3 separate regions of the Homo sapiens genome follow, and regions 2 and 3 are each linked to region 1. The links are contacts of gene promoters, found by promoter capture Hi-C in blood cells and fetal thymus (Javierre and others, 2016). All regions are on one chromosome and are shown on one strand. The core of a region is centred on a gene start or on the middle of the fragment in contact, and the rest is flanking DNA. Distances in the headings are between cores, read along the strand shown.

Region 1 (4,283 bases), core at 722-3,221:
ACATGGCGAAGCCCTATCTCTACTAAAAATACAAAAATTAGCCAGGTGTGGTGGCAGGCGCCTGTAATCCCAGCTACTTGGGAGGCTGAGGCAGGAGAATTTCTTGAACCCAGAAGGTGGAGGTTGCAGTGAGCCAAGATTGTGCCACTGCACTCCAGCCTGGGTGACAGAGCAAGACTGCATCTCAAACAAACAAATTCATCTTTCCATGTTTGGGAGTCCATGTGACATGGAGTTGGGGTATGGAGCAGCCAAGGCAGAGGTTTAGGGGACTCCAAGGGCCCCCCAAGTCACCCAGAGCTCAAGGGGCAAAAGCAAAAAGAGATGGGGCACTCACCCCAAAGCTTGGCCCATGGAAGAAACACCTACCTTTTCCAGCAACACAGCATGTGCAGCCCTGAACATTCTAGAAAATGGCTACACCAGTCCTTTCACACAGAATATGCAGACTACCCAAAACACTTCCAAAGAGTACCTCTAAAGTCTGGATAACACAACCCAGAATTAATTAATAGTCCAGTACATGGACTTCTGACTTACAAATCCCTGATTCATGGACTCCAGAAAGGGGAAGGGTAGAAAAGTCTCCCCGACGGGTGAGGGAGAAGATGTTTCCCAACTCCACTCTTAGCCACTGTGATTTTGACCACATCAAGGGTGCAATTGGCTAGAATGGGAACCACACATGATTTCCAAATAATTAATTCACTTTTGTTATTATTTTCTTTTTCTTTTGCAATTTAGGACACATTGAAAATCTCTGACACAAATCAACCTGATGGACAAGAGACCCCTTTCCTGTATTTCCAGGAGGAAATAGGTAATCTTGTCCAAGTGCAATTCCCATAAAATTCGTCTAATTCATCCCTGAGTTGCAGGTTTTCTTTGACCTCATGGTTTTTCTTTCACAAATTTTCATTAGATCCCTTGCTCTCTCTCTCCACCGCTCTTTTATGAGGGGGGAGGGGGTGAAAAGTGGTGGATAGTATTCAACCTTCTTAGCTGCCCACGTCCCATCTGTCCCTCGAATAGTCTTAAATCTGGGTCCTTTTATGGTTCCCAAAATGTGGCAGAGAGGTGGGTGCTGGCTTTCTGGCGGTGGGGAAGTGGGGGCAGTAGACACACAACCCTGCTTCCCCCACTCCCCCACCCACACACACACCCCAGGAACCTGTCAGCTCCGGGTCCATTTTGGAAATCACCACCAGAGAGGAAATGGCAGCCTGGCCTCCTGGGCTCTAAATTCGCATCTCCCCAAAGCCAGCACCAACACGGTGGGAAACCCCTCTAGATGAGGCGACATTTTAAGGCAAAAACGTTGCCCATCCCGTGCTCCCTGGGGGACTGGGGAATTGTGGCGCGATGACGGACCCTGGCGCATCCCCGCCTCCCTGCCTCGTCCTCCCCTCCCTTAGCGGGTGCATGGTCCCCAGGCATCGACGGATGCGCCGGCCACCCCCGCGCGGTTTCCAGGGCAGGGCCAGCCTGGGGGGGTGGAAGCAGGAATCCAGGGGGTGCGGGGAGCCCCCTCCAGTGCCCAGGCGACTTTGGGGAACAAGGATGAAAGGAGAGGGGAAAGGGCGCTGCAGTGGCCTCAGCCGAGGAGGGAGATGCGCGCAGGGCGCACGGTGCCACCTCCGCAATCCCTGCTCCCGGGCCCACTCGCCCGCTGAGACGGTTCCAGGCCCCGGGCGGGCTGCGGCTGCAGGGAGGCCGGATTGCCCAGCGCCTTACCTGCGGCCACCCCTGCCGGGGCCCAGGGCAGGAGGCAGGCAAGCCAGAGGATGCGGCCGAGGCGCGACCACACTGCCTGGGCCATTGCGGGGCCCGGAGCGGGAGAAGCGTGGGGCGGACGCGGAGGGAATGCAGCTGGAGCTCGAGAACTGCGGCGGTCGCTCCTCCGGGCGCGCAGCGCGGGCGGTGCGGGGAGGTGCGGGCGCCGTGCTCGCTCGTCCTCGCCGGGGGACGCTCTGTCGCTGCGCGCCGCCGCCGCCGCCCACAGCCCGCTGCGCGACCCCGGCCCACGTCAGCCGCGCCGCGCGCCCTCCTCCTCCTCCCGCCGCCCCTTGCTCCCGCGTCCCTCTCCACGGCCGCGTCCTCCCTCTCCGGGTCTCTTCCCACGGCCGCGCCCCCTGCCCTCCTGGAGTCCACGATCGCCCCTCCCAGCTTGCTTCCCCTCTAGGGGTTCCAGAGCTCCCTTCCTGCGCCCTGGCTCCTCCCCGCATCCCTCCCCACCCCAAATCCACCCCCGGCCGCATCCTTCCCCTCCACTACCCGAAACCACGCCCCCCGCACCCGCATTTTTCCCTTCCCCCGAGCCCCTCCCCGCCCTGGATCCGATGCCGCCGGCTCTGACTCAGCGTCCCCAGGGGCGTGCGCTGCGCTGCAAGCCGCCTGCAGGTCCCTTGGGGCTCTCCTCCAGGTGCCTTCTCTCTGCACGCTCGTGGCTCCGAGATGCTACTCCTCATTCAAGAACTGTTGAGAGCTTAAGGTGCGCCAGGCGTTGGGCGAAAGGCCTCGAAATTCCTCTTGCTGCTGCTGCTGCTGCTGCTTCCTCTTTTCTTTTTTTTTTTTTTTTAATCTTGAGACAGAGTCTCGCTCTGTCCCAGAATGGCGCGATCTCGGCTCACTGCAACCTCCGCCTCCCGGGTTCAAGCGATTCTCCTGCCTCAGCCTCCCTAGTAAGATGGGATTACAGGTGCCCGCCACCAGGCCTGGCTAATTTTTGTATTTTTAGTAGAGACGGGGTTTCACCATGTTGGCCAGGTTGGTCTCAAACTCCTGGCCTCAAGTGATCCTCTCGCCTCAGCCTCCCAAAATGTTGGGATTACAGGTGTAAGCCACTGTGCCCAGCCTCTTGCCCCTTCTTGATAGAGGGGCCTGAGCACCCGGCCCCTGCCGTGGGCTTGATGTCATCCCCCGGTTTACCCTCTCACAGCTGCTGTTAAGATGGGGCTCCTGCTCGTATCTGGGCCCAGGGCAACTTCTTTGTCACTGAGGGCCTTGTGGGAGTCAGGCTACTGCGGTGAGGGGTGACCAGCCTACACAGTTACTGCCATTTGCCTTAGAGGAGCAGGGCTGGGCTCTCCTAGAAGCTGGAGGGGCCTGGCTGGCCTTAAACGCTGGAAGCCCGGTGGGTTCTGGTCCCAGCTATGCTTCCGCTTTGCTACGGCTACCTGGGCGAGGGATCCTCCCACACAGTGAGGGCCTTTGACCTCCTCTCTGGCCCGTGGAGCACGGATGGACCATCACTGCACCACCCAGTGCATTGACATCAAGGCGTCTAAAGCAGGGGTCTCCAAGCCCCTGGCCGCCAGTACCAGTCCATAGCCTGTTAGGAACTGGCTGCACAGCAGGAGGTGAGCAGGGCCTGTGAGCCACGCTGAGCTCCACCTCCTGGCAGATCAGCAGGGCATTAGATTCTCATAGGAGCGCAAACCCTACTGTGAACTGCTCACGTGAGGGATCAAGGTTGCGTGCTCCTTATGAGAATCTAATGCCTGATGTTCTGTCACTGTTTCCCATCATCCCCAGATGGGACCATCTAGTTGCAAGAAAGCAAGCTCAGGGCTCCCACTGATTCTACATGATGGTGAGTATGTAATCATAATAGAAATAAAGTATACAATAAAAGTAATGCGCTTGAATCATCCCGAAACCATCCCTCCAACCCCTCATTCGTGGAAACATTGTCTTTGGTGCCAAAAAGGTTGGGGACTACTGGTCTAAAGGGCCCCTGGCTCTGGGACAGCTGTGAGCTTCCCTAAGAATGGGCCCCACTGGCCCCACTGCTATGTTCAGGGAATGGAGGGAGAATAGATTTGAGTGAGCCCCTATGAAAAGTTAAAAGGGCTAGACAGGGCAGGGCATGGTGACTCACACCTGTAATCCCAGCGCTTTGGGAGGCCGAGGCGGGTGGATCACGAGGTCAGGAGTTCGAGACCAGCCTAACCAAGATGGTGAAACCCCGTCTCTACTAAAAATACACAAATTAGCCAGACTCGGTGGCAGGCGCCTGTAATCCCAGCTACTTGGGAGCCTGAGGAAGGAGAATTGCTTGAACCTGGAGGCGGAGTTTGCAGTGAGCCAAGATTGCACCACTGTACTCCAGCCTGGGCAACAGAGCAAGACTCCGTCTCAAAAAAAAAAAAAAGTTGGGGGGGTCGGTTGCGGTGGCTCACGCCTGTAATCCCAGCACTTTGGGAGGCCAAAGCGGGCAGATCATGAGGTCAGGAGATCGAGACCATCCTGGCTAACACAGTGAAACCCCGTCTCTACTTAAA
Region 2 (4,283 bases), core at 848-3,347, 440 kb after region 1:
GGCTCATGCCTGTAATCCCAGCACTTTGGGAGGTCGAGGTAGGTGGATCACCTGAGGTCAGGAGTTTGAGACCAGCCTGGCCAACATGGTGAAACCCATCTCTACTGAAAATACAAAAATTAGTCAGGCGTGGTGGCGGGCACCTTAATCCCAGCTACTTGGGAGGCTAAGGCAGGAGAATTGCTGGAACCTAGGAGGTGGAGGTTGCAGCGAGCCGAGATCAGACCACTGCACTCCAGCCTGGGCGACAGAGCGAGACTGTCTCTCAAAAAAAAAATTTTTTTTTAATGCACACTTAACCAGAACCAGCCACGTTTATGCCCCGTTTCCCGCCGTGCCTTTGTCACAGGAGGACCAGGCCAACCAGACCTTGGCTCGATACAGGAAGACGGTGCATGAGCTGGATGACGCTGAGGACCGGGCTGGCATGGCAGAGACTGCCCTAAACAAGCTGCGCACCAGACACCGCGTGGCCGGCAAGGGCATCACCTCTGTGGAGATCATCCAGGTGTCCAAGACAGGCACCTCGAAAACCCTTTCTGAGGAGTGAGGCCCTCCGTGTCCTAGGCCACAACTGGTAGGTGTGGACTCCGCTCTGGACGGTCTCGCTCAGAGCGCTCCTTCCCTGCACTGGCTTTGCTGCTAGTATTGGTACTATGTGACCCAGCCATACTCCCCCTGCTCCCCAGCTCCAGTCTTTGTCACACCCAGTCTCATGCAACAGGAACCCCAAAGCTCTTCCCCTCCTTCTTCAGCTGCAAAACTCCTCTAGAGTGTCACAGCCCTCGGGTGGGGTGCTGTTCACCTGTATCACAGGTGCTGGCCGACCTGATGTTCCCCCATCTGCACAGAAGGGCGGTTCCCAAGTGTGATGCCACTTGACACTAGCCTTGGAACCTAGGTGCTTAGTACAGTCACAGGGACGTCCACAAGCTTATGGCAATGTGTGTTATCTTTCGTGTCCCCCACAATATCATTTTTCACTGGAGATTTCATCAATCCTGGTTGAATTCAGGTCTCTAACACTAAGAAAATGATAATTATCATCACAGCTACCATTTCTTGAACACTGAGTGCAGGTGGGATTTTAAGGAAACAATTTAAAGTAGTCTTTATTCCCCTTAATTCAGAACTAATCAAGGACAAAAAATATTGGAGATAAATATATAAAAGTTAAAATAGGCTGGGCACAGTGGCTTGTGCCTGTAAATCCTAGTACTTTCAGAGGCCAAGGGGGAAAATGGTTTAAGCCCGGGAGTTCAAGACCAGCCTGGGCAACACAGTGAAACCCTGTCTCTACAAAAATAAAAAAAAATTATCCAGGCATGGTGGTGCACACCTGTAGTCCCAGTTACTCAGGAGGCTGAGATAGGAGGATCCCTTGAGCCCAGGAGTCTGAGGTTACAATGATCTAGCATTCCAGCCTGGGCAACACAGTGAGGCCCCATCTCAAAGAAAAAAAAGTCAAAATACTAGTTTTATTTATTTATTTGAGAGTCTCACTCTGTCACCAGGCTGGAGTGCAGTGGTGGGATTTCGGCTCACTGCAACCTCCGCCTCCCAGGTTCAAGCAGTTCTCCCAAGTAGCTAGGACTACAGGTGCACACCACCATGCCCAGCTAATTTTTGTATTTTTAGTAGAGACGGGGTTTCACCATGTTGGCCAGGATGGTCTCAGTCTCTTGACCTTGTGATCCACCTGCCTCAGCCTCCCAAAGTGCTGGGATTACAGGCATGAGCCACCATGCCTGACCCAAATACCAGTTTTAATATGCCATAATTCTAGATTGAGGATGGGGCTTTAATGTGTGTCCACCATAGGCATCCTCATACTTTGCCTCAAAATTAAAGATACCTGAAACCCCAACTCTACTAAAAATACAAAATTAGCCAGGCGTGATGGCACACGCCTGTAATCCCAGCTGCTCGGGAGGCTGAGGCACTAGAATTGCTTGAACCCAGGAGGCACGAGTTGCAGTGAGCCAAGATCACGCCACTGCACTCCAGCCTGGGTGACAGAGCGAGGCTCTGTCTAAAAAAAAAAAAAAAAAAAAAAAAAAACCAGAACTGAACAAATGCAGGCTTGATCCCCGGGGAGTAGCCACTATTCCTAGGAGAGGAACAATCAGAACCCATCATCCCTGGGAGTAGATCTAAAAGGAGAGATTAGATGGGGCTCAGCTCTGCCTTCCTGGTTCCTTATTCCAAAAACAAGATCAATCACTCCTTTTCCCATGGACAGAAGCAAAAGGAAAATGAGGGGTAAGGCACAGAATGTGATTCTGGAGGAGTGGATCCCAAAACATGGTCCCGGGACCAGCAGCATCAGTGTCACCTACGACATTCTTAGAAGTGCCTATTCTTAGGCCTGGCTCCAGACCTATGCATCAGCAGCTCTGGGGGTGGGCCCAGCATCTGTGATTTAGCAAGCCCTCCAGGTGACTCAGATGTGTGACTGAGTTTGAGAACCACCCAGATACATGGAGCCAGGGTGTGGAGGTTTCTCCTTTAACAAGAGCCAAGTGCTAAGAAAGAAAAGGCAACTGAAAGGGCTGGGCGCAGTGTCTCACGCCTCTAATCCCAACACTTTGGGAGGCCAAGGTGGGAGGATCACTTGAGGCCAGAAGTTCGAGACCAGCCTGGGCAACATAGCAAGACCCTATCTCTACAAAAAAATGTAAAAAATGAGCGTGGTGGTGGCTAAGTGCATGGAAAATGCTTTTCACTCTCTTTTCTACCCTACAAGGTAGGTATAAATATCCCCGTTTGTCAGGTGAGGAAAATGAGCTTGGAGAAGTTTGGTGACTTGCTCATGGTCACACACACCCTGTGCTATGAAAAGGCAAGTTATCTTTTATTTGAAGTTACTGTGGAGATTGATATGGTTGCCCTCTATGTGGGATTAATCAGGGCAGCAAAAAATCAAAGACTGGTTCGCTTTGGGAGGTGGGGTGGGGCTGAACCCTAAGCACCGACCTCCGTGGCTTCTGGGAATTATATCTGGCCTCACTGAATCAACAGCTTGTTGAATCAGCCCCTAGTGAGGAGGGTAAGTTTCCCTGCTCAGTTACGATTCGCTATCTTTCAGTAATGGTGGTCAGTTTGGGTTTTGGCCAAAAGCGATAACCCCATTGAACTTTGATGTGAAGCTGAGCTTTATCTGACCGTTTGCTTAGGGAGGAGATAAAATATGGGGCACAGAATCTTTTTCTGAATTCTCTAACCCTGAAATAATGGTTAGGTCAGGAAGTTAAGGAAATCAGAAGCTTGTCTCTGCATTAATGTGTTTTACCTTTCAGGCAAAAACCTGAAAGGGATCCCTCCCAGTGAGCTCTGACCTAGGTGGGAACTACTCATGAGGCTTCCTGTACACCCAGACTCAGAAGGCAGTTCAGCTCCTTCCACTAGGAGTCTTAGGCTCCAGGATTAGACATCCTTTAAAGCAGGTCCCCTGCCCTGGTTTGGCTGGACCTGGTACAATTGCTCTGTCACAGCAAGGATCTACTTCCATGCCATCAGGCTGCTATCCTGCCACCGGCACCCAGAGGTGATGAGGCTGTGCCTCTGGGGTCTACTCTCCATGTCCTGATCCATCCATTTTGTTTTTATTTAATAAGCCAGGCATGATGGCAGGTCCTTGTAATCCCAGCTACTCAGGAGGTTGAGGCAGGAGAATTGCTTGAACCTGTGAGGCAGAGGTTGCAGTGAGCCGAGATTGTGCCACTCCAGCCTGGGCAACAAGAGTGAGAGTCCGTCTCCAGAAAAATAAAAAAATAAAAAAAAACTGAAAAGAAAAAAATTAAAAACATAAATATAAAATATTTTAACAGAAATTTAAGAGAATAAATAAAACCGATCCTTCACCAGGCAGAGGAGAGAAGGGAATTCCAGACAGAAGGCCCAACACACACAAAAGTGCAAAGGTGGGATGTGCACAAGGGCACAGGCTGGCTGGAGTAGATGGGCTCAGAGAGCTGCAGCGCGGTGGGGGATGAAGCTAGCAGGGTAGGGTAGGCAGGGGTGAGGCTGTGAATGGCTCTACTGGGTGCAAGTATTCCATAAACTCCATAAGGAAACCTTACTAATTTTAAAAATCCATTTGTGGGATGAGACATGAAGTAGCTTTTCTTTCTTTGGAAGATGGTCACATCACAATAGCAAAACCCCTTGTGACACATCACAGGCAGGCTCTCAGGGAGAGCTCTGTATCCCAGGGCACTGCACTCTGAGCCCACTCAATGACTTGTATGGGCACATTATGCCCAAAGGTGTCTCTAAACCCT
Region 3 (4,283 bases), core at 759-3,258, 420 kb before region 1:
CGATCCTCCTGCCTCAGCCTCCTGAGTAGCTGGGACTACAGGTGCGGCCACCAAGCCCAGTCAATTAAAATATTTTTTTTTTGTAGAGATGGGGTCTCGCTCTGTTGCCCAGGCTGGTCTTTTGGAGCAGGGGGCTCCCTGTGTTCATTTTTTACTGAGCCCCAGAAGTTACACAGGCAGTTCTGCTGAAGGTCAGGGCTGGTGGGTAACGTCAGGGTGGTCGTGGAAGAGGATGTGAGAAATGGGTGAATTCAGGACTTTTTGGCTAGAATCTGTAAGACTGGCTGATGTTTTGGATTTGGGTGGGAGGATGCAGGGAAGAGGGAGGAATCACTCCTGAATGTGGGGCTGGGACCTGGGGAATGAGTACCCTTTTTCCAGATGGGAAATATCGGGTAAACAAGTCAAGTGGATTTTGGAGTGGGCAGATGGGGTCAAGAATTTCAGTTTGGTGAAAATAAACTTCCTATCAAATTTTATAAAATAGGGACGGGATATTACATTTAAAAAATTGCTGACCAGCCAGGCATGGTGGCTCATGCCTGTAATCCCAACACTTTGGAAAGCCAAGGTGGGAGGATCGTTTGAGGCCAGGAGTTTGAGACCAGCCTGGGCAATATAGCAAGACCCCATCTCTACAAAAAATTTTAAAAAATTAGCTGAGCATGGTGGTGTGCACCTGTAGTCCCAGCTACCTGGAAGGCTGAAGCTGGGGACGATTGCTTGAGCCCAGGAGGTAGGGGTTGCAGCGAGCTATGGTTGTGCCACTGCACTCCAGTGTGGGTGACAGAGCGAGGCCCTGCCTCCTAAAAAAGAAAAAAAAAATTGGGCCAGGCGCGGTGACTCATGCCTGTAATCCTAGCACTTCGGAAGGCCAAGGCGGGCAGATCACCTGAGGTCAGGAGTTTGAAACCTGCCTGGCTAACGTGGTGAAACCCCATCTCTGCTAAAAATACAAAAACATTAGCTGGGCATGGGAGCAGGCACCTGTAATCCCAGCTACCTGGGAGGCTGAGGCAGGAGAATTGCTTGAACCTGGGAGGTGGAGGTTGCAGTGAGCTGAGATTGCACTACTGCACTCCAGCCTGGGTGACAGAGTGAGACTCCGGCTCAAAAAAAAAAAAAAAAGAAAAAGAAAAAGAAAAAAGAAAATTGGTGACCCAATATTGTACTATAGTTTTGCAAGATGCTACCACTGGGGGAAACCAGGTAAGGGAGTTCAAGAGCTCTCTCTGTATTATTTCTTACAACCGCATGTGAATCTACAATCATCTGAAAATGAAAAGTTTAATTAAAAAAAATTGGTGACCCAGAAAATCAGGACGTGAATGGAGCAATAGGCAGCTTGGGGCAGGTGTTACTCATTTTTATTCATCAGTTCCTAAATCTGCAAGGAGTTTGGGGGCAGCTCATAGAGGCAGACACAGCCAGGAACAGTGAAGGGGCTGTTCGTGGTGTCTGAGGGGATGGTGGCAGCGGCTGTGGCTCCTGAGCGTCTGTCCTTCCTGGTGGTCTGGTGTTGAGGGCTGATGGGGTGGACAGCAGCTCATCTCTTGGAGGTCCTGCCAAGTAAAGGGGTGAACTTGGTTCTAGAAGACAATGTCCTTGGCTCTGAGGACGCTGACTTCAGCACTCACCTCCTCTAGCAATTTCAGGTCACTTGGGCAGTGGGACAGACACAGGGGCAGGAAACTATGGGTAGGAGAGGAGGCCAGGATAAGCCCGGTTGGTGTTCACTTACAAGCTTTCCTTCGCTAGAGTCAGGGCTCCCGGTGGGGAGAGGAACATTTCATCTTAAGATATTTGCAGATTTATTCACGGAACTTCCCACATATCTGGATGAGGATATACGACTTGCCCCCTGGAGGAAAGAGTTAAATGAATCGCTAAAGCACAAAATGTTCCTGTAAAATTGCTTCTATATTTTATTAGACGCAGATGAGCATGAATTATTGTGAAGCCAGCAGGGGAGTTTGCAAATTTGGTTCTTGCCTTTTTCCATCAACAACCCCCAATCACCTAGATGGTGATGGAAGGACTGGTTGAGGGATGCTGGTTTGGGGTAGGACCCTTGAATAAAGAGCTCATTCACTTGTTAATTCATCCAGCCATCAGAGGTTTATGGGGCACCTACTGTATGTCAGGGAAAGCAAGCACAATTACAGCTTGCAGGTATCATTCTTGTTAATCTACCTTCCAACGACACCACCAAGGTCCTTCTGAGATGCGCCATTTTTGTTTCACGGTTATGTTGAGGATGGCATTTGGGGGAGGAAGCTTCCTTTTGAGCCTCTCAGAGTGCCACTCTTATCTGTGCCATAGAAAAGAAGTCACATTTCACCTACCCCTCCACGGTCAGAAATGCAAATTAACATGAAATTCCACTTTCCAACAATCTCCCGATTTGCATCAAGGTGTAAAACTCCTTGGGAGGAAAATGGACACAGTTGTGCAAAATTGGTTTTCTAGCTGAATAGATCTGATTAGTTTCTTACACTCGGTGTGGCTCTGTCAATTTATTTTTTCTTTTCTTTTTTATTTTATTTTATTTATTTATTTATTTATTTTTTGAGAGTCTCACTCTGACCCTCAGGCTGGAGTGCAGTGACATGATCTCAGCTCACTGCAACCTCTGCCCCTAGGTTCAAGTGATTCTGCTGCCTCAGCCTCCCGAGTAGCTCGGATTATAGGCACGTGCCACCACACCCGGCTAATTTTTGCATTTTTAGTAGAGACGGGGTTTTACAATGTTGGCCAGGCTGGTCTTGAACTCCTGAGCTCAGATGATCCACCTGCCTCGGCCTCCCAAAGGGCTGGGATTACAGGCGTGAGCCACCATGCCCAGCCAAAAATTTTTTTAAAAAGAAAAAATAGTGGCTGGGCATGGTGGCTCATGCCTGTAATCCCAGCCCTTTGGGAGACAGAGGTGGGAGGACTGATTGAGGCCAGGAGTTTGAGACCAGCCTGGGCAATATAGTGACACCCCATCTCTATAACAAATAAAAAATTAGCCAGGTGTGGTAGTGCGTGCCTGTAGTCCCAGCTACCTGGGAGGCCGAGGCAGCAGGGTCACTTGAGCCTGGAGTTCAAGACCAGCCTAGGCAACATAATAAGACCCCATCCCTGGAAAAATTACAAAAATTAGCCAGATGTGATGGCATGAGCCTGTAGTCCAAGCTATTCAGGAGGCTGAGGTGGGAGGATCACTTGAGCACAGGAGGTTGAGGCTGCAGTGAGCCATGATAGCACTGCTGCCCTTCAATTTAGGAAACAGAGCAAGACTCTGTCTCAAACAAAATTTATTTATTTATTTTTGAGACGGAATCTCACTCTGTTGACCAGGCGGGAGTGCAGTGGCACAATCTTGGCTCACTGCAACCTCCGCCTCCCAAGTTCAAGCGATTCTCCTGTCTCAGCCTCCACAGTAGCTGAAATTACAGACATGTGCCACCATGCCTGGCTAAGTTTTGTATTTTTAGTAGAGGCAGGGTTTCACCATGTTGGCCAGGCTGGTCTCAAACTCCTGACCCCAGGTGATCTGCCAGCCTTGGCCTCCCAAAGTGCTAGGATTACAGGCGTGAGCCACAGAACCCAGCCAAAAATTTATTTTTAAGTTTTTTTTCATTTCAGTAGCTTGAGGGGTACAAGTGGGTTTTGGGATGTGGAAGAATTGTATGGTGGTGAAGCCTAGGATTTTAGAGCCTCTGTCACCTGAGTAGTGTACTTTGTATCCAATAAGTAGTTTTTCATCGTCACCCACTACCATCATCCCCTTTCTGAGTCTCCAATGTCCCCACTCTGCATGTCTTTGCATACCCATAGCTTAGCTCCCACTTATTGGTGAGTACATGCAGTATTTGGTTTTCTGTTCCTGAGTTACTTCACTAAGGATAATGGCCTCCAGTTTCATCCAAGTTGCTGGAAAAGACATTCTTTCTTTCTTTCTTTTTTTTTTTTTTTTTTTTTTTTTTGAGACAGGGTCTTGTTCTGTCACCCAGGCTGGAGTGCAGCAGTACACAGCTCACTGCAGCCTTGACCTCCTGGGTTCAAGCAATCCTCCCACCTCAGCCTCCCAAGTAGCTGGGACTACAGGTGTGCACCACCATGCCCAGCTAATTTTTAAATTTTTCATAGAGATAGGGGTCTCACTATCTCTATGATTGCCCAGGCTGGTGTTGAACTGCTGGCCTCAAGCAATTCTCCTGTCTTGGCCTCCCAAAGTGCTGGGACTACAAGCATGAACCACCTCACCCTGCCCCTATTTCGTTTTTTTTTTTTGAGAT

The links. The method cuts DNA at HindIII sites, captures the fragments that hold promoters and counts their contacts. A CHiCAGO score of 5 or more calls a contact.
Region 2: a fragment that was not itself captured here is called in contact with the fragment with the promoter of TMEM130 in region 1 in 3 of 17 cell types (fetal thymus, megakaryocytes and monocytes); the score reaches 6.2 in fetal thymus.
Region 3: a fragment that was not itself captured here is called in contact with the fragment with the promoter of TMEM130 in region 1 in 10 of 17 cell types (naive B cells, total B cells, endothelial precursors and 7 more); the score reaches 10.9 in naive B cells.

What each region holds. Positions count from the first base shown.
Region 1 is chr7:98,868,043-98,872,325 of GRCh38, forward strand. TMEM130 (transmembrane protein 130) reads right to left here and starts at 1,972. Exons shown (of 8, transcript NM_152913.3): 1 at 1,735-1,972. The coding sequence starts at 1,819. RefSeq lists enhancers at 870-1,456, 1,457-2,042. The HindIII fragment of the contact is 4,583 bases long and covers 343-4,283 here.
Region 2 is chr7:99,306,260-99,310,542 of GRCh38, forward strand. MYH16 (myosin heavy chain 16) reads left to right here. Exons shown (of 24, transcript NM_001431356.1): 23 at 350-577. The coding sequence ends at 550. The region is part of intron 2 of LOC105375421 (a long non-coding RNA gene); the gene reads right to left. Among named protein-coding and RNA genes, the nearest start is that of ARPC1A, 17 kb to the right of the region's middle. The HindIII fragment of the contact is 2,333 bases long and covers 932-3,264 here.
Region 3 is chr7:98,447,079-98,451,361 of GRCh38, forward strand. No RefSeq gene overlaps it. Among named protein-coding and RNA genes, the nearest start is that of BAIAP2L1, 48 kb to the left of the region's middle. The HindIII fragment of the contact is 533 bases long and covers 1,743-2,275 here.